Linked DNA regions of Homo sapiens: regions 2 and 3 are each linked to region 1. Evidence: promoter capture Hi-C in human tissues and cell types (Jung and others, 2019). All regions are on one chromosome and are shown on one strand. The core of a region is centred on a gene start or on the middle of the fragment in contact, and the rest is flanking DNA. Distances in the headings are between cores, read along the strand shown. Region 1 holds the start of ZNF90 (zinc finger protein 90). Region 2 overlaps LOC105372310 (a long non-coding RNA gene). Region 3 overlaps LOC105372310 (a long non-coding RNA gene).

Region 1 (4,142 bases), core at 1,543-4,042:
TCTACTAGAGAAGTACAAAAATTAGCTGGGCGTGGCGGTGCATGCCTGTAATCCCAGCTACTCGGGAGGCTGAGGCAGGAGAATCACTTGAACCTGGGAGGCAGAGGTTGCAGTGAGCTGAGACTCAGCCACTGCACTCAAGCCTGGTGACCCGAGACTGAGCCACTGTACTCCAGCCTGGTGACAGAGCTAGACTCCGTGTCAAAAAAAATAAATTAATTAATACAGGAAAACAATGATAATGGTAGTGTGTACCAGAATTCATGTATCTTCCCAGTATTGTTTTCCCCATACCTCTTTATTCCCAATTAACCATTTGTTTTGTTGTCATTGGGGCATCCAGGTAGTAAGACCATTTGCTACTGAGCAAGAGTTGGTATACAAGTGACAAATCCTTCTTCCTTCCTTTCGAAGAGCTCAGAGGATGTCTACTAGTTCAGTTAACTGGCTGCTCCCACCCCTTTCTTCATCAGAAATGGTTATGTTTTTCGGTTGTTTGTTTTTGAGATGGAGTCTCAGTCTGTCACATAGGCTGGAGTGCAGTGGTGAGACCTCAGCTCATTGCAACCTCTGCCTCCTGGGATTCCAGTGATTCTCCTGCCTCAGCCCCCTGAGTAGCTGGGATTATAGATGCATGCCACCACACCTGGCTAGTTTTTGTATTTTTAGTAGAGATGGGGTTTCATCATGTTGGCCAGCCTGGTCTCAAACTTCTGACCTCGTGATCCACACATCTTGGCCTCCTGTGGATTTTGAGGGAACTCGTGACCTAAATCATAACAGGAAATTTAGGCCTCATAAAGACATCATGGTTAAAGCAGAGGTGTTTTGTTTCCAGTAAAGTCCAATAGCAAGCTAACAATTGTGCACAGGTGAGGAGAGCTGTCACGAAGCTTTGGCGCAGTCTGGGACCCTAGCTCTTTTGTAATGAGTTGTTTGGCACGAGGCTTAGTCATGAGGACCCTTCGCGACTGAGCTGAAGAAACACAAAAAGGTCACTTGTTTTTGGGATTGTCTGTTGTTTTTCAAGAACGAATGTATAGGAATAGATTGAAATACAGATTTCTCTGAAACAGCGCTGGATGAACGCCTCTAGGGGCTCACACAACCTGTTCCCGGACTTGGTGACCATTGTTTGTGTCCACGTTCAATTAGCACAAATTTATTATTTAACTTTGACTCCACACCAGACTATGGAGGATTCACCACCAGACCGGAAAGCAACAGGATGGGCTCCAGAGTTGGCCACCCATCGGTGCACAGACCAGGAGAGGTATAATGACGCTTCTGCGCGGTCTGGGAACCTAGCTCTTTTTGTAACGAGTTGTTCAGCATGAGGCCTAGTCACCAGGGCCCTTCATGACTGGTCTCAAGGAACACAGAAAGGTCAACTTGTTTTTGTGATTGTCTATTGTTTTTCTTTTTCTTTCTTTCTTTTTTTTTTTTTTTTTTGAGACGGAGTCTCGCTCTGTCGCCCAGGCTGGAGTGCAGTGGCGCGATCTCGGCTCACTCCAAGTTCCGCCTCCCAGGTTCACACCATTCTCCTGCCTCAGCTTCCCGACTAGCTGGGACTACAGGCGCCTGCCACCAGGCCTGGCTAATTTTTTGTATTTCTAGTAGAGACGGGGTTTCAGCGTGTTAGCCAGCATGGTCTTGATCTCCTGACCTCGTGACCCGCCCGCCTCAGCCTCCCAAAGTGCTGAGATTACAGGCGTGAGCCACCGCGCCCGGCCTTGTCTATTGTTTTTCAATAACGAATGTATAGGAATAGATTGAATAGATTGACATAGAGATTTCTCTAAAATAGCACTGGATGAACGCCTCAAGGGGCTCACACAACCTCTTCCAGGACTTGGTGACCATTGTTTGTGTCCACGTTCAATTGAGTTCAAATTAAATATTTAACTTTTCCTCCACAAATTCCCCTGTCTTGATGAATTGGTTTTGTCTGGGCAAAGGGCAAGGTAAACTCCTTGGGCGGTTACACAACCTCCACCTCCTAGGTTCAAGAGATTCTCCTGCCTCAGCCTTCGGTGTAGCTGGGACTACAGGTGTGCACCAGCACGCCCAGGTAAGGTTTTGTATTTTTAGTAGAAATGGGGTTTCACCGTGTTGGCCAGGGTGGTCTTGAACTCCTGACCTCAAGTGATTCGCCCTCTTTGGCTTCCCAAAGTGCTGGAATTACAGGCGTGAGCCACCGCGCCTGGCCCTAAATGATTTCCTTTCTGTCTCCTATAACAGTTTGAAATTACTTAAAAGTTGTTTCAAATTGAAAAAATAAAAAGAATGTAGATAAAAATAAAATATAAAAAGTTAAAAAAATTACATTAGATTACAAAATATATATGATGTATATGTAAGTCTCGAGAGGTCAAAAATGACAAATTTGATTTACTTACAAGGTTTTATTAAAATTAGCTTTCGTATTGATAATACACTATTACCAAAGTAAAAGTTTTCTCTTGAACAAAAATTTTTTGTATTATTAATATGACAGCCAAATACTTCTGTTCACCTTTTGAATACATTCAAAAAGAGAAAGAGTAAAAAAGAATTTTCCCATGCTCTCCGGTGGGCCTGGCTCAGCTCAAGGAGGAAGCCCGGCCTGAAAAGGCTGCAGCTGAGGCTGTGACTCTTTCTTCACTCAGCCCAGCATGTGATCACATCTTCTGTCACTCAGGGACTGAGGAGGCGGGGCCTTAAGCATTATCCAATCAGGGACGCTGGGTTGGAAACCGTCCAATCATGCAGGCAGCTGGAGCGAAGAGGAAGGCTTTCGGGTTTGGCGCGGCCATTTGTCTCTTGCTGCAGCTGGTGCTCCAAATCTGGTCTTAGCTGCTTCGTGTCTTCTTCTCCAGCCTCTGTGGCCCTGTGACCTGCAGGTATTGGGAGATCCACAGCTGAGGGACCCCCGGAAGCCTAGAAATGGTGAGAGTGCCTTTCCAGCATTCCGAGAGAGGGGAGGGACTGGTTGGAACCGATGGGAAGTGGCTGTGGCGGGACTTAGGCCTCCCCGCAGTCAGCTCCACAATCTGCGACCGACTTCTCCTTGCCCAGTTCGGCCTCAGTCCCCTTCAGCCATAAGATGGCAACAGCGCCGACAGCCGGGCCCCGCGGCGTCCTGTCTCTTCCCTGCCCTGGCCTGGAGCCCTCTCTGGGCAGCTCTGCACCCACAGCGCTGCGTCTCTCCCAGATTGTGCAGGGAGCACGGGAGGGTTCTCGGGGGAGAATCCTGACTCGGGGTGCAGGTTCATGAATGGGAAGAGCTTTGGTCCATGGGGTTGACAGTTTCTCTTTTCTCCTATTAAAAACTTATGGGGCCGGTCGCTGTGGTTCATGCCTGTAATCCCAGCATTTTGGGAGGTCGAGGCGAGCGGATCACTTGAGGTAAAGGGTTGTTAGTACAACGTAGTTCTTCTTCAAAGACGCAACTTCCTGGTCATAAGTTGGAAAAGTTGTAAATCACCCCTACCCCTTCTTCTCCCTTCTCCTTTTCTCACAAATCGCGCATTACCCGATTTGGAAAAAGCTTGAGTGTAAGCCAACCGGGATCAGCTTAGATTGTGCGGTCTGACCCCAGCCAATGGAGGGAAAACAAAAACAGAACTGCATTAGGGCTAATAACCCCTTCCCGGCCAGGCGCGGTGGCTCCTGCCTGTAATTTCAGCACTTTGGGGCGCCGAGGCGGGCGGATCACGTGGTCAAATTTCTAGACCAGCCTATCCAACGTGGTGAAACCTCTCTCTACTAAAAATACAAAAATTAGCCTGGAGTGGTGCCAAGCGCCTGTAATCCCAGCAACTTGGGAGGCTGAGGCCCGAGAATTGCTTGAACTCGGGAGGCAGAGGTTGCAGTGAGCTGAGATCCCTCCATCGCGCTCCAGCATGCGCGACAGAGGGAGAGTCCTCAAAAAAAAAAAAAAAAAAAAAAGTAAGCATCTTAAAATTTCCATCCTTTATGTAAACACTGTGTTTTAGTAACTTCACTGTATTTTCCAACACTTAGTTTCAAAAACCCAGTGAATAACTCTGGCATGGAAATTAAAGCTTGAACCTAGTGATTCCGAGCTAAGGCTAATATTAAGCCTGCAAAAGGAGGGTTTTTTTTTTTTTTTTGAGATGGAGTTTGTCCAGGCAGATGCA
Region 2 (3,657 bases), core at 200-2,699, 140 kb after region 1:
AGAAAAGGGGATGTGTCATCAGAGCTCCTTTCCTGTAAGTTTTCAGTCCTCTGTCACCCTGGGAGAAGACCTGGAATCACAGGACAATGGGCAGTGTGACAATCTGTGTACAGGAGAGCAGAATCTCCCATTCCCAAACACCCAGAGTTTTATTCCAGGCCAGGCCTCCATGATATCTTCTTTCTGGCACCAAATCTGTAGCATTTGCTGAACATCAAACAATTCTCCAACACCAACTTATTGTATAACATTTGATTTCTAACACTACCCAGAGTCAGCACAGACCCTGATTCAGGGCTCGGTCCCACAACATTGTTCTCACTGCAGATGCCAGTCATAAATCCCATGGGCCCATCTATGGTTCTGAGCTACTGTTTAAAAACTGGGGACTCCCATAACTTCCCTGAAGCTCAGTAATTTGGTAGAGCTACTCACAGAACTCAGCAAAACACTGTAGTTATGCTTACTGGTTTAATATATAAGATGCAGCCCAGGAAAAGCCAAGTGGAAGAAATGCATAGAACAAAGAAAAGAGATGAGGAAAGATGAAACACATAGATAATTATGAAAAATATTTGTGATTAATAAAATTCTCCTTCCTTTGTGTGCTTCAGGAACAGTTTATGGAAAGAAACACTCTTCCCGTTATGATTAAGATGATGCTCCCTTTTCTTGCCTATCACACAGCCAGACATACACTCTGCACATTTTCTCCTTTTTCTCATTAAAAAAAAAACAAAAAACCAGCTGAATTTGCCTTCAGCAGTCAAAATCAATTATGATTTTTTTTTTTTTTGAGATGGAGTGTCACTCTGTCACCCAGGCTGGAGTGTAGTGGGGCCATCTCGGCTCACTTCAGCTTTCACCTCCAGGGCTCAAGCAATTTTCCTACCTCAGCCTCCCAAGTATCTGGGATTACAGGCACCTGCCACAACGCCCAGCTAATTTTTGTATTTTTAGTAGACAGGGTTTCACCATGTTGGCCAGGCTGGTCTTGAACTCCTGACCTCTGGTGATCCGCCTGCCTCAGCCTCCCAAAGTGCTGGGATTGCAGACTTGAGCCACCACACCCAGCCTAAAATAAAATATTTCTTAATCAAATTTTACTTAAGTTTATCTTCTCTCAGGCTCCTGAAATTCAAGCTACCCTCAGTCTGAGTCAACATACAACCCCATTTTATGTCCCTCCTAAGAACATGCTGATTTCAGGGTAAGCCATTCTCTGATCTAAAATCTGACTTTTTCACCCTCCATTTGCTGTTCCTCTCCCACCTCCTTTCTAATCTTGTTTGCTCTTCCCTAGAAAAGAAAGCCCTTTTCTGCCTATATTTTTGCAAGCCATAAAGATATTATAGTTATTTGGTGCTTCCTTTTGTTGCAATACTTTTTTGGAATTGGTTTTTTACCTGCCTCTTGAGAATATGCCTTTAAGGGTGTCAGTACCACATGTTTACCTGCAAGCATGACATCAACTGGCAGAAAAGACAGAAAAAGTCCATCCATTTCTGTCCCTTAAAGCAGAAGGTATTTGGGAACAATGTGCTGCTCCATAAAGATAAAAATATGTTTCTTCTTCCCTGTCCTCAGGTGCCCTCCCCTGCCACAGACACCAGCAATTTCTGCTACAGAACCTGCAGAGAAAAAGAGAAGAAATTAAAATGCTGGGCCCTTTTTCTAAATCCTGGAAATTAGTATTAAATCCTTAGTACCAGCTCCCAGGGTGTTATGAGGATTAAATTATATAATGTATTATGCCCAGCAGAGTTCTCTGTATCACAATCTTGAGCACATAGTACCTGCTTCATACAGTAATACAAATATACACCACTCTGACCTGTCCATACCAAGCCAAAACAGAACAGGCCCTGTGGCTACCCTTTAGTCCAAAAGTGGAACTTAATTCTCATGAATATATTTTGAAGGCCTCATACCTGATTCTGGCCTCACCTTAGAGTCACATGAGGCCCTTCATTAAAACAACATGGATGTTTTCAACCAGAATAATAAACAGAAGCTGTGGTGAGGGTACAAGAGATTTCTGCATATTGGCCATGTGATCCTAATGAGAAGCCTGGGCTGATAACCACTAAGCTAAGCATTGCCTCTCAAGCTTTAATGAGCTTATAATTCACTTGGTAATTCTGGCCACACTTTAAGTAATGTGATTCTGCAGGTTTGAAAAGGGTCTGTGAATCAGTGTTTTAAACAAGTCCCCTGTCAATGCTGATGTTACTCCTCCTTGGCTCATTATTAACATTAGTTAGAAAAGCAGGCAAACCACAGGGTCCCTTACACTTAGCACTGTTGTCACAATCAGATAACTCTGGTACAAATAAGGACAACTCATCTCCATCCTAAAGTTTTATATTCTTTGCTGGCTCTTTAAAGTTTACAGAAGAAACAGAAGGTAATTACCAGGATTTAGAAAAAGAGCCAAGCATTTTAATTTCTTGTTTTTCTGTCATCAAAAATTTTTAAAAATTGTATAGAATAAAAGCTAAGTATAGACAGATGAATGAGACATAAAAAGGAAGAGGTTAGTTTAGAGAAAATTTTATTCTGTTTGTATTTACTTTTTTTTGACTTACGGAGCAACTACTGGATCTGCGGGAATAAGAAACAAGTTGCTAAATAGAATGTCTCTGCATCCAATGGTTTTCATAGAAAATTAAAAAACGGCTGGGTGCGGTGGCTCATGCTTGTAATCCCAGCACTTTGGGAGGCAGAGGCGGGCGGATCACGAGGTCAGGAGATCGAGACCATCCTGGCTAACGTGGTGAAACCCCATCTCTACTAAAAATACAAAAAATTAGCTGGGCGTGGTGGCGAGCGCCTGTAGTCCCAGCTACTCGGAGGTTGAGGCAGGAGAATGGCATGAACCCGGGAGGCAGAGCTTGCAGTGAGCCGAGATCGCGCCACTGCACTCCAGCCTGGGCAACGGAGTGAGACTCCGTCTCAAAAAAAAAAAAAAAAAAAAAGAAAATTTAAAAATGAAGACCCTCAAATACATACTTTATTTTTTTGTATTTATCTGCTTTTGGATTTCAGGAAATTGTGAGCAGCAGCTCTAGAAATACTGCAGGATTCACCAGCCAAAACTGATCTCTGCCAATCAGTTCTGTGAGGCAAGACTCCAGGGTAGGTCTGGACCTACATAAAGCCTCCAAAAAAGGTGAATCTGAACAGGTCTGGGGCAGAGTGAGGATCCTTTGTAGAATTCTGTTCTCTATGCCACTGGGATACTTCCAGTTTTGTTTTTCTAAGCCTACCTAAAAGAAACTTAAATCCCAGAGTTTCTGTAATTTTAATATTTTCTAGCCACGGCCCTGTCAACTTTATACTATATACTAATATGCAATTTAAAGAAATCCCTTCAGGTTTCCTAGGGTAATTTTATTGGAAAATAAATATGTACAGTTAGCAAGGTAAAAGAAATAGAAACTATACGGCTGGGTGCAGTGGCTAAGTCCCACAATTCCAGCACTTTGAAAGGCTGAGGTGGGTGGATCATGAGGGCAGGAGTTCAAGACCAGCCTGACCAAGATGGTGAAACCTTGCCTCTACTAAAAATACAAAAATTAGCTGGGCATCGTGGCTGTGGCCAGTAATCTCAGCTACTTGGGAGGCTGAGGCAGGAGAATGGCTTGAACCCGAGTG
Region 3 (4,008 bases), core at 204-2,703, 190 kb after region 1:
AGGGTGTGGTGGCAGACACCTGTAATCCCAGCTACTCAGGAGGCTAAGCCAGGAGAATTGCTTGAACCCAGGAGGTGGAGTTTGCAGTGAGCAGAGATTGCACCATTGCACTCCAGCCTGGGCAACAAGAGCAAAACTCCGTCGCAAAATAAATAAATACATATATAGGCTGGGTACAGTGGCTCTCGCCTGTAATCCCAGCACTTTGGGAGGCTGAGGTGGGAGGATCATGAGGTCAGGAGTTCAAGACCAGCCTGGCCAATATGGTGAAACCCCATCTCTACTAAAAATACAAAAGATAGTTGGGTATGGTGGCACGCATCTGTAGTCCCAGATATTCAGGAGGCTGAGGCAGGAGAATCACTTGAACCTGGGAAATGGAGGTGGCAGTGAGCCAAGATTGTGCCACTGCACACCAGCCTGGGCAACAGAGCAAGACTCCATCTCTCAAAAAAATAAAAAAATAAATAAAAATAAATAAATAATAAAAAAAAGGAAATAGAATGCTTGTGCGGTTTTTTAAAAAGCATACGCTATGCTGCCTACAAGAGATTCATTTAAGCATTGAGTCAAATAGGCTGAAAGTAACAGAATGAAAAAAATGTACATTCCATGAAAATAGTAACCACGATTGAGTGCAGTGGTCATAATTATATTAGACATAATATGCTTTAAGTCAGGTAGTACCATGAGACAAAGATTGACGTTATATTATGTTAAAGTGAGTTGATTTACCAGGAATCTATAACTATAATATTTACTTATCTATATATATATGTGTATATAACATCAGGGCTCCAAAATATATAAAGCAACTATTGACAAAAGTGAAGCAAGACATACATAGCAACATAATTGTAAACATCAAAACCCCATTTGCAATAATAAATAGAAAGTTTAGATAAAAAATAAGAAACAGAAAACCTAGACACCATTATAGACTATATTAATTATTTTGCATATAGATGAATATTTGAGAGTGCATAATTTATAAAGAAAAAAGGTTTAGATGGCTCACAGTTTGGCAAACTGTATAAGTGTGTGCCAGCATCTGCTTCTGGTGAGGATTTCAGGAAGCTTAAAATCATGGTGGAAGGTAAAGAGTAACTGGATATATTATATGGTAAGAGACAGAGCAAGTGTGAGGTGAAGAAGCCAGGTTCTTTTAATGAACCAGCTCTCATTTGAATTAATAGAGTGTAAACTTTTTGGTTACCAAGAGGATGTACCAAGCCATTCATGAAAAATTTGCCCCTATGACCCAAATGTGTCCCACCAGGTCCCACATTCAACATTGAGGATTTATATTGCAGCATGAGGTTTGGAAAACATGGACATCCAAACCATATTATAGACCAACTAGCGTTCGCAGACACACACAAAACTCCCCAGTCAAAACCAAGATAATGCACAATATTCTTATTTTCATCTGGTGTATTTTGTTAGGGCACATAGCAGGTTTTATTAAATTTTAAAATACTGACTGGGTACAGTGGCTCTTGCCTATAATCTTAACACTTTAGGAGACCAAGGTAAGAGGATCCACCAGGAATTATGAATATTTTTCAGATGGAAAAGACATGTTGAGTTAGAAGACACCTCTCAAATTTTTTTTTTTTTTTTTTTTTTTGGAGACGGAGTCTCGCTCTGTTGCCCAGGCTGGAGTGCAGTGCTGTGATCTCGGCTCACTGCAAGCTCCACCTCCCGGGTTCAGGCCATTCTCCTGCCTCAGCCTCCCAAGTAGCTGGGACTATAGGCGTCTGACACCTCACCCGGCTAATTTTTTGTACTTTTAGTAGAGAACAGGGTTTCACCATGTTAGCCAGGATGGTCTCGATCTCCTGACCTCATGATCCTCCCACCTCGGCCTCCCAAAGTGCTGGGATTACAGGCGGAGCCACCGCACCTGGCCACCTTTTTTTTTTTTTTTTGAGATGGAGTTTCGCTCTCGTTGCCCAGGCTGGAGTGCAGTGGCACGATCTTGGCTCACCGCAACCTCGGCCTCACAGGTTCAAGCAATTCTTCTGCCTCAGCCTCCCAAGTAGCTGGGATTACAGGCATGCACCACCACACCAGGCTAATTTTGTATTTTTAGTAGAGATGGGGTTTCTCCATGTTGAGGCTGATCTCAAACTCCTGACCTCAGGTGATCTGCCTGCCTCGGCCTCTGAAAGTACTGGGATTACAGGCATGAGCCACCACGCCCGGCCATACACTGTGTATTTTCTAACAAAAACTGAATTAAACTAGGAATTAAAAGCAAAAGTCAAACTGGAAAGTTCAAAAATATGTATATATAAAACACTTCAATATATTTTTGCTCAGGGGTCAAAAAATTTTATTTTTCAAAAATGTCAATACAACCTACCATTAAAAGATAATACAAAGTTGTTTGTCAGAAATGTTTATTTATTTACAGAAATAGCATTGATTATTGATTAGATATATATCGTTATGGTTTAGGGTATGGGATATAGTGTCCAATGTGGCATTATTAGTTTAATTTATAGCTACTTGTGGCAATAGTGAACAGTTTCAAGACATGAATACATAGTTCAAAGAGGGGAGAAATAACTGCACTTTTATTTTCATCTCTCTGAATTTGATAACCAAAAGGACTTGCATTTTTTAGATAAAAGTTTTTTATTTCCCAAATCTCAAGATCTAAATTCAAAATTTGGAGCTGCACATTTAGGGCCTGAATGGCTGGAGTAGCAGCAGGTGTTACCTGTACATTTGTGAGCACTTTGGCAAGAGGAGGAAGGGGAAAGTGGAGATTCTCATGTCTATATGTCTACTCAATGCACACACGTTACTCTGATTGGGTTTCTGGGCCAAATAGTTTCTGTATCAGTTCCAGTCTGAAGATACAAGAGTCAGTGAAAGAGGTAAAATGATTGATTGCTGCCCTGTGAAGTTTGTAGAAATGTGATCTAGCCTCTCTAGAAGTGACTGCAGAGGACTATGAATGCCAACTAGGCAGAGACACAATTCTGCCTGCATATTTAGGGGACAGCATGCACTTTGCTGCACAACTCTGAGCTGACTGGAAGCCTGAGAGGGAAAGTCTCCTCTAGAGTAAATTCTGGATGTCACCTTATGTGTTTATATCATGTCTGGTAATTCTAGACAGTGTTTGGAAACAATAATTAAATGAAAATTTTTCTCCACCCCAGAGAAACTCCACAATAATAGAATAGAAAGAAACTGTTTTATTACACAATTGAACTTGAATGTGACACGGATCTTCATCAATCTGCTTAAGAGACGGAAAGATGGTCACTATAATTAGGCCACAAGTAGAAGAATTTCCAGCACCATGTCATACATAGTTCATCCTAAATTCACCTGGATACTGAAGAGGCCATCTGTGTATGCTAATTACTTATATTCAATGACAAAAACTTTTCACATCTTCATAATAGGATGTAGTTTAGCAGCTTGAAGCCAGGTGCCTGCTGAAGGTAGGCTTTCACTCTGCTACAAAAATGGTTGAATAGTGTTCTATCTTTTTGGCTACTTACATTTTAGAGCAGTGGCTCTGTACTCCCTGGCACTGGGCTACAGCACTCCTGCTTGCTTTCTCCTGGTTGCTAGTGTCCTCTCTTGGCCTCTACCATCTGCCACTGAGGCACAAACCACAGCTCACATTTTATGTGAATCCTATTTGCCACAGCAGCACTCTAGTGTCACATCAGAGAGTGAGGCCTGAGCTGCAGGAGGAGAGCCTGCAGGCCTCCTGGGTAGAATTACACCTTCACAATCATGAGAATGTGAGCAGTGTTTCAGCGTCAATTTCTACGTATAGAGATGACAAGGAAAAGATAAAGCTGAATTTTCAGCATGAGTCCAGATAGTGATAGCTGCAAAAATTCTCATTGTGACAGCCCACCTTAATCTGACACCATGGGACACTAATAGGGCTTCTGAAACACACACCCAAAGCATTGGAGAGAAAAATGAGATCTTGATCTGAGCAAGATTATTTTCATAGAAAAATATTATAAA

The links. The method cuts DNA at HindIII sites, captures the fragments that hold promoters and counts their contacts. A contact is called where the count stands out against the background at its distance.
Region 2: a contact is called between a fragment that was not itself captured here and the fragment with the promoter of ZNF90 in region 1, in 1 of the 25 tissues and cell types used here (mesenchymal stem cells).
Region 3: a fragment that was not itself captured here is called in contact with the fragment with the promoter of ZNF90 in region 1 in 1 of the 25 tissues and cell types used here (bladder).

Annotation. Positions count from the first base shown.
Region 1 is chr19:20,075,208-20,079,349 of GRCh38, forward strand. ZNF90 (zinc finger protein 90) reads left to right here and starts at 2,793. Exons shown (of 4, transcript NM_007138.2): 1 at 2,793-2,928. The coding sequence starts at 2,926. RefSeq lists an enhancer at 2,736-3,215. The HindIII fragment of the contact is 4,387 bases long and covers 1-3,787 here.
Region 2 is chr19:20,215,686-20,219,342 of GRCh38, forward strand. It overlaps LOC105372310 (a long non-coding RNA gene), which reads right to left. Exons shown (of 7, transcript XR_007067164.1): 5 at 1,455-3,657. Among named protein-coding and RNA genes, the nearest start is that of ZNF486, 50 kb to the left of the region's middle. The HindIII fragment of the contact is 5,893 bases long and covers 1-3,657 here.
Region 3 is chr19:20,264,124-20,268,131 of GRCh38, forward strand. All of the region lies in intron 1 of LOC105372310 (a long non-coding RNA gene), which reads right to left. It also overlaps the pseudogene BNIP3P18. Among named protein-coding and RNA genes, the nearest start is that of ZNF486, 99 kb to the left of the region's middle. The HindIII fragment of the contact is 4,763 bases long and covers 1-3,835 here.